Linked DNA regions of Homo sapiens: region 1 is linked to region 2. Evidence: promoter capture Hi-C in 16 types of primary human blood cells and fetal thymus (Javierre and others, 2016). All regions are on one chromosome and are shown on one strand. The core of a region is centred on a gene start or on the middle of the fragment in contact, and the rest is flanking DNA. Distances in the headings are between cores, read along the strand shown. Region 1 overlaps C18orf54 (chromosome 18 open reading frame 54). Region 2 holds the start of RAB27B (RAB27B, member RAS oncogene family).

Region 1 (2,700 bases), core at 144-2,643, 470 kb after region 2:
GATCATTTGGAATGTACATTCATCTATAACAGCAAATTATGTTAAAATGTGACATTTCAAGCAAAGAAAAAAATGGGAGAAAAGACATTTTCTAGTTACAAAATGCTGTATGTGAAGATTATAAGCATTCCAAAAAGATGTATTACATGAAAACAAAACATAAAAGCTCCCAGATATCACATCAACTTTACAGCACTTCTTTTGGTTTAAAAAAAAGAAAAATAAATAACTATAAGCAATAAACAAAGTATTACCACTGAATGGCTTTGTGGATTGTCCTGGGAGAAGTGGATTCTCACATTGACACTGGCTATGTTCAAAATCACATTTGTATTCATTAACTAATTCTTTATCATCACTCAAGGAATTTGAAAAGTTTGAGGGTTCAAAAGCATATTCAAAACAATCTAATTTATTGATAAGCCGAGAAGTTCCTTGTGCCTGATGACTATGTCTAGGGGAACACTGATCATCTTTAAATATCTGATAAACCCTTTGACTATTTGCATCAGGTAGCAAGTCTTGATTGTGCAGCCAGACTGGGTATTTGAAATCAGGTATACTAGTTATCCCTGAAACATTAAGGTCAGATTTCTGGCTAGTGAGCCATCTTGGGTAATTCTTTTCAAGACTGTGTTCTGAACTGTCCTTGAAAGACGATTTCTTGGGAAAAGACAAAGATGATTCAGAAATGCAATTATTAGTCCTATTCATAAGTTTTGGGTTTTTCAGCCTACCACATTGCTTTCCATTTATATTTGAGCGTATAACAGGAGTAACAAAGTTATCCTTGCCCATGGAAGTGTAGGGTCCTTGAAAATGTGGATTCTTCTCAATGTCCAATGAACCCAGTCTTCCACGGCATTTCTTGTTTTTCTTGCTCGTTCGGTGACTCGGTCCAACATAAGTATAAGAAAATGATCCATCTGCTGGGAGTCTTAATAGATCATCAGTTGTTAGGCTCATGGAGTCTATGTCATTAACGGTGTGTCTTCTACAGGATATGAAGTTTGAGTGCTTTTTGTGATCAAGGTTTTCAAAAGCTGAAAAACGAAGAACAGTTTTGTTTATTACATACAAATATTTTATAATATCCAACAGTAAATGAGAATTAAGAATTTAAGAGGCATTTTGCTGCTTTCCCCTTATCCTCACTAAAGCTTTGATTAAAAGCATAAAAAGGTGTAGGTGGATAAAACAGGATGTGCTTTTTTTCTCACGATTCTTCGTTCTGTGTTAATTTCTACGTTTCTCTCCAACCTCCTGAATTTTCCTGTGTTCTCTAATTTACTGTTCCTTCAACTTTCATCATCTAGACATATCTGATACACTAATACAATCACAGTAACATTGGTCACTCAATATTGGTTGCAGCATAGAAAAAAATATGCTATTAAACTAGGTGGAAAAATAACTTGTTTTCTCACCTACAAACCCTTCAATGGCATGGATTATACATAGAGAACAGCTGTTCTCATTCTTTGCTTCCGGAATATATTGACCACATCCCTCCAAGAACTGAATACAAACTTTTTCTATTCTAGGGTCATTCTGCAAGTGTTAAGTAAAGTAGTAATTGACTTATCAACAACTGCATTTTCCAAACTTGTCTTCAAGGAAGCTTTATTATGGACAAACTCTTAACATCTTGTGAATATTACTGTTCCACAGAGAATTATATAATCATTTTACAAAAACACCCAGATCTCAATATTATGTTATTTTTACTCCAAAGTAACAAAAATAATGTCAAACTTTACAATACTACAGTACATCTCCCAAATGCTTCAAAACATCTGAACACAAAGAAAACAAAGAATAAAAGCATACCATTGTTTGGTTTGTAAATATAGTTGCAGAACTGTGACATATTAGTAAAATCCTCATCAATGTTAATTTTTCCAGTGCTTGCACCAGGATATATTTGGCCTAGATCAAAATCATCAATATAAGCCTGTAGAGCTTGAGAAGCAGATCTGTACAGCTTATCTTTATAGTGAAACGAGCCATCAGAATTAGAGGAATTACTACCACTCAGGGTGCAGCTTGCCAGCAGGGCAGATACTGAAGATTCCTGAGAACAAAGTCTATGTTTTGTCTTTGATTTCGCCATGGCTTCTTCAAAGTGGATTGTTTCTATTCATTTCCCTTAAAAACAACTGTAATACAAAAACGAAATGTTAAGATGCCAATTAAAAGTGACCATACACAAACAAAATTACTAAATATGTAAACCTTTTGTAATTTTCTTTAAATAATAAAATCCATTATCTATAACAGACACTCCTTGTTAGGAATTGTAGATTTTTGTTATATTTATTATTGTGAATTCCTTCATCAATGATTTAGAAAACATTTTTTGAGTACCTACTATGTGGCTGGAAGTATGTATACAAAAATTATCTGAGAATATACATGGAAAATACCAAGGAGAGAGTACTCACTTCTTAAAAAGTCCTAAAAACTACTTATGAACCTCTTTTCTCTTATGGTGATATATTCTATGACATCACAATACCTAATATTCCCCTATACATCATATTTTTCAAATCATAAGCCTACTACCATGTGCTGCAGATAATAGCGCTCAATAAATTTTTTAAAGCCATCAAATGAAGTATTCAAAACAAGAACAATGGAGAATATTCACTTTCAATGTTATAAATGCTAGTACATTTACAACATTTAACTGTAAATAAA
Region 2 (2,826 bases), core at 158-2,657:
GATGGCTGACCCCATCTGGGTAGAGGATTATGCTAGGAAACTATGAAAAATAACTATTTGAGGGGCAATGGCACATGACAGGTATGTCTCTCTCTTCATCACTGCAATATGGACTTTACAGCAGCTTGAAAATTCATTAAACTTAAATATCTGAGTTTATATTAATGCTTAAGTCTATCCTTTCCCTCAACTTTTCAAAATTTATAACCATAAAACCCTGTATATTCTATATATGAATGAATATGTGTGAATATAACTAAATATTGAGAACTGTAGACATTTTTCTTATAAACAGAACAAAATCAAAATTCAGAGCTGTATTATATTAAACAATAATTTTGTTGTTAATAACCTTGAAATTTATGTTATTACTTTGGGCTTAATTTAATGATGTGCAGTTTAAAACAACTGGAATTACATACCCTTAGCTTTACATCTTGACATAAAAAACTCACAAAACATGATACAGGTGTGAAGGCTCTAACCAAACACAGCTTTTTCCTAGGAATGCAGTCTCTGCTTACAGTTCACCTACTTCAGTAGTTTTCAGAGGCTTAATTAATGTTGCATTGGGTGGGAAAGTCTTGAAAGCTAATTTATTGTGATCAGTTGGGTGAACACACATGCACACATATACCCTAGTTGGTGCAACACTTAGATCAGAATTCGAAAGTAACAGAGCAAAAAATTGGAAAACAGAAAGTACTCTTAAGGTCTCTGTGGCTATTTCATCTAAGGAAGTGCATATAAATGTCTTATTGCTCTCCTGGCTTGCCTCACTAAGTCGCTCCTCCTGGAATGAAACTCTGAGCACATCATCATCCATGCTTTTTCTTATTCATTATTTTGATTGTTTTTTGAGATGCAAATGAAAGGAAATTGGCATTGCTGTGCCTAGGCTTTTTGTTTTTCTTTTTGCTTTTTTTGGTGGTAACCAGCTGTTTGATAAGCAAACACTCAAGGAGAGCCAGGTCGAGTTGGCCCATGCCATCCGTGCAGCACACAGCACTACTGTCTTCTTTGCAAGGATTTCTGCTGGAAACCGCGATCGAAGGTGCACACGCACTCACACATGCACACACACACACACAGAGGCCTCACTTCCCACGGCGCAGGCCGGCGCTGCAGCACCCGGGTGGGTGGGAACGCGTTCCAGCAGCAGCAGCCCGCCTTCCCAACTCACCAGCCTGCGAAGTTTCCTTGCCGGGAGAGCAGGTGTCAGATTTCAGAGAGGTTTCCTTCCCCTTCCCAAGCCCTGGAACTCCCGGGCTCCACCGTCAGCAAGGAGACAGGATCTGCTCCACAGGGCGATGAGCACGGGGACAGCTACTTATCTCCTCCAACCTGTGGCTCCGGATGGGTCCAAGGCCGGGCGGTCCGCAGCCCCTGCCCGTCAGGACTGCGAGTGGCAGGGCTGGTGGCACCACCCTCGGAGTCCGCCGCGGCGGCGGGGCTGGGTAAGGTTTGTGTGAGAAGAAGGCGTGTCTGCAAGTCCCAACGCGGATGTGCGGAGCTCACCTCAGGCAAGTCTTGCTGGTGACTCAACTGCTGCAGTGAGAAACACACTCCTCTCGGGGATGAAGTCTCCACACTGTGGGGCTTCTAGCCTTACCAGCGAGCTCATTTTTATTCATTTTTGTTCTGTGTTTTCTTTGATGTCTCTCATTCAAAGAGCCCAGGGCGCTGTGAGAACTGGGGCCCTGACATTGCGTTCTCTCCTCCGAGGGGGTGTCTCATTAACTATGAGGAGTGAAGGCGAGGGATTGCGAGTGGGGAGCAGAGGATGGCCTCGGGAAATAAAAGAGGGCGTTGGAAAGAAATTAATATTTTAAAAGTTAGGATGTGTTCGTATGAATGCATTAATCAGTATGCAACATCCAAATTCACTTCCCAAAGCCCTAATTCACTTCCTAAAGTCACTTCAGAGATCAATAGGTTACCACTAAGTAAGATAATGAGCACACGGAGGCATTGAACCAGTATTTGTTAAGCACCTACTATGTGCTATGCCGTGTTCTAAACACATTAGATTCGTCCACAAAGCAAAGATCCTGGCTGCCCATCTTGGGATTCCATTTTAGACACATTCAGACATCCCTAATTTACAGACTGGTAGTAAAGGTAAGAATACAAGGTTAGGTACATTATAATAACAACCGATTTACTCCTCTGTGAACAAAATTTAAAAGTTCCAAACCTGTGTCTTGCATTCATGTTAGTAAACAACGAGATGCCAATGACTGCTTGAATTTTAATTACTTAACTTGTTTCTTATTCGATGCCCTAGAGACAATCTGGGAGGCACTGCTGTTATCAGCTCCCAGAGAATTTCTTGTAGAAGGGAGCAAAGGAATAGCCCAAACCAAAACACAAAACAAACAATAGCAAACTAGTGGAAAAATGGAATATTAGAGAAAACATTTTGGTCTCATAGAAATCTGTCTATTCTATTATGAAACTATTAAAGAAGTTCTATTTTATGTCCTTCAATGTTCTTGAAAGTTGAAAAGAAGAGTAATAATAATGTCTTCATAGTGTTATTGTGAAGAATTGACTTCATATCAGTAATGTGTGTAGAACGTGCCTGGCACAGTAAGTTCTATGAATGTGTTGGCTATACTTATAATTTTGGTAACAATCTATTCCATTCTCCCCAAGTAAGATCCAGTTCCTAAAAATTATTTTGGATCTACTGCATAAAAGTCTTTGAGGCTCAGCCTGTAGATTTTCAAAGTATGTATGCTTGGAATCTATATTTATGATAAATCTACTTTGCATTTAACAGCAATATCTAAGTATATAAGAAGTGTGTGTCCATGGGCCCAG

The links. Contacts are between HindIII fragments. The CHiCAGO score rates a contact against its expected background, and 5 or more counts as called.
Region 1: a fragment that was not itself captured here is called in contact with the fragment with the promoter of RAB27B in region 2 in 1 of 17 cell types (erythroblasts); the score reaches 6.7 in erythroblasts.

The regions. Positions count from the first base shown.
Region 1 is chr18:54,359,986-54,362,685 of GRCh38, reverse strand. It overlaps C18orf54 (chromosome 18 open reading frame 54), which reads right to left. Exons shown (of 9, transcript NM_001288980.2): 3 at 1,831-2,159; 4 at 255-1,043. The coding sequence starts at 2,113. Among named protein-coding and RNA genes, the nearest start is that of C18orf54, 3.4 kb to the right of the region's middle. The HindIII fragment of the contact is 461 bases long and covers 1,163-1,623 here.
Region 2 is chr18:54,827,058-54,829,883 of GRCh38, reverse strand. It overlaps RAB27B (RAB27B, member RAS oncogene family), which reads right to left and starts at 1,407. Exons shown (of 6, transcript NM_004163.4): 1 at 1,184-1,407. The HindIII fragment of the contact is 8,053 bases long and covers 1-2,826 here.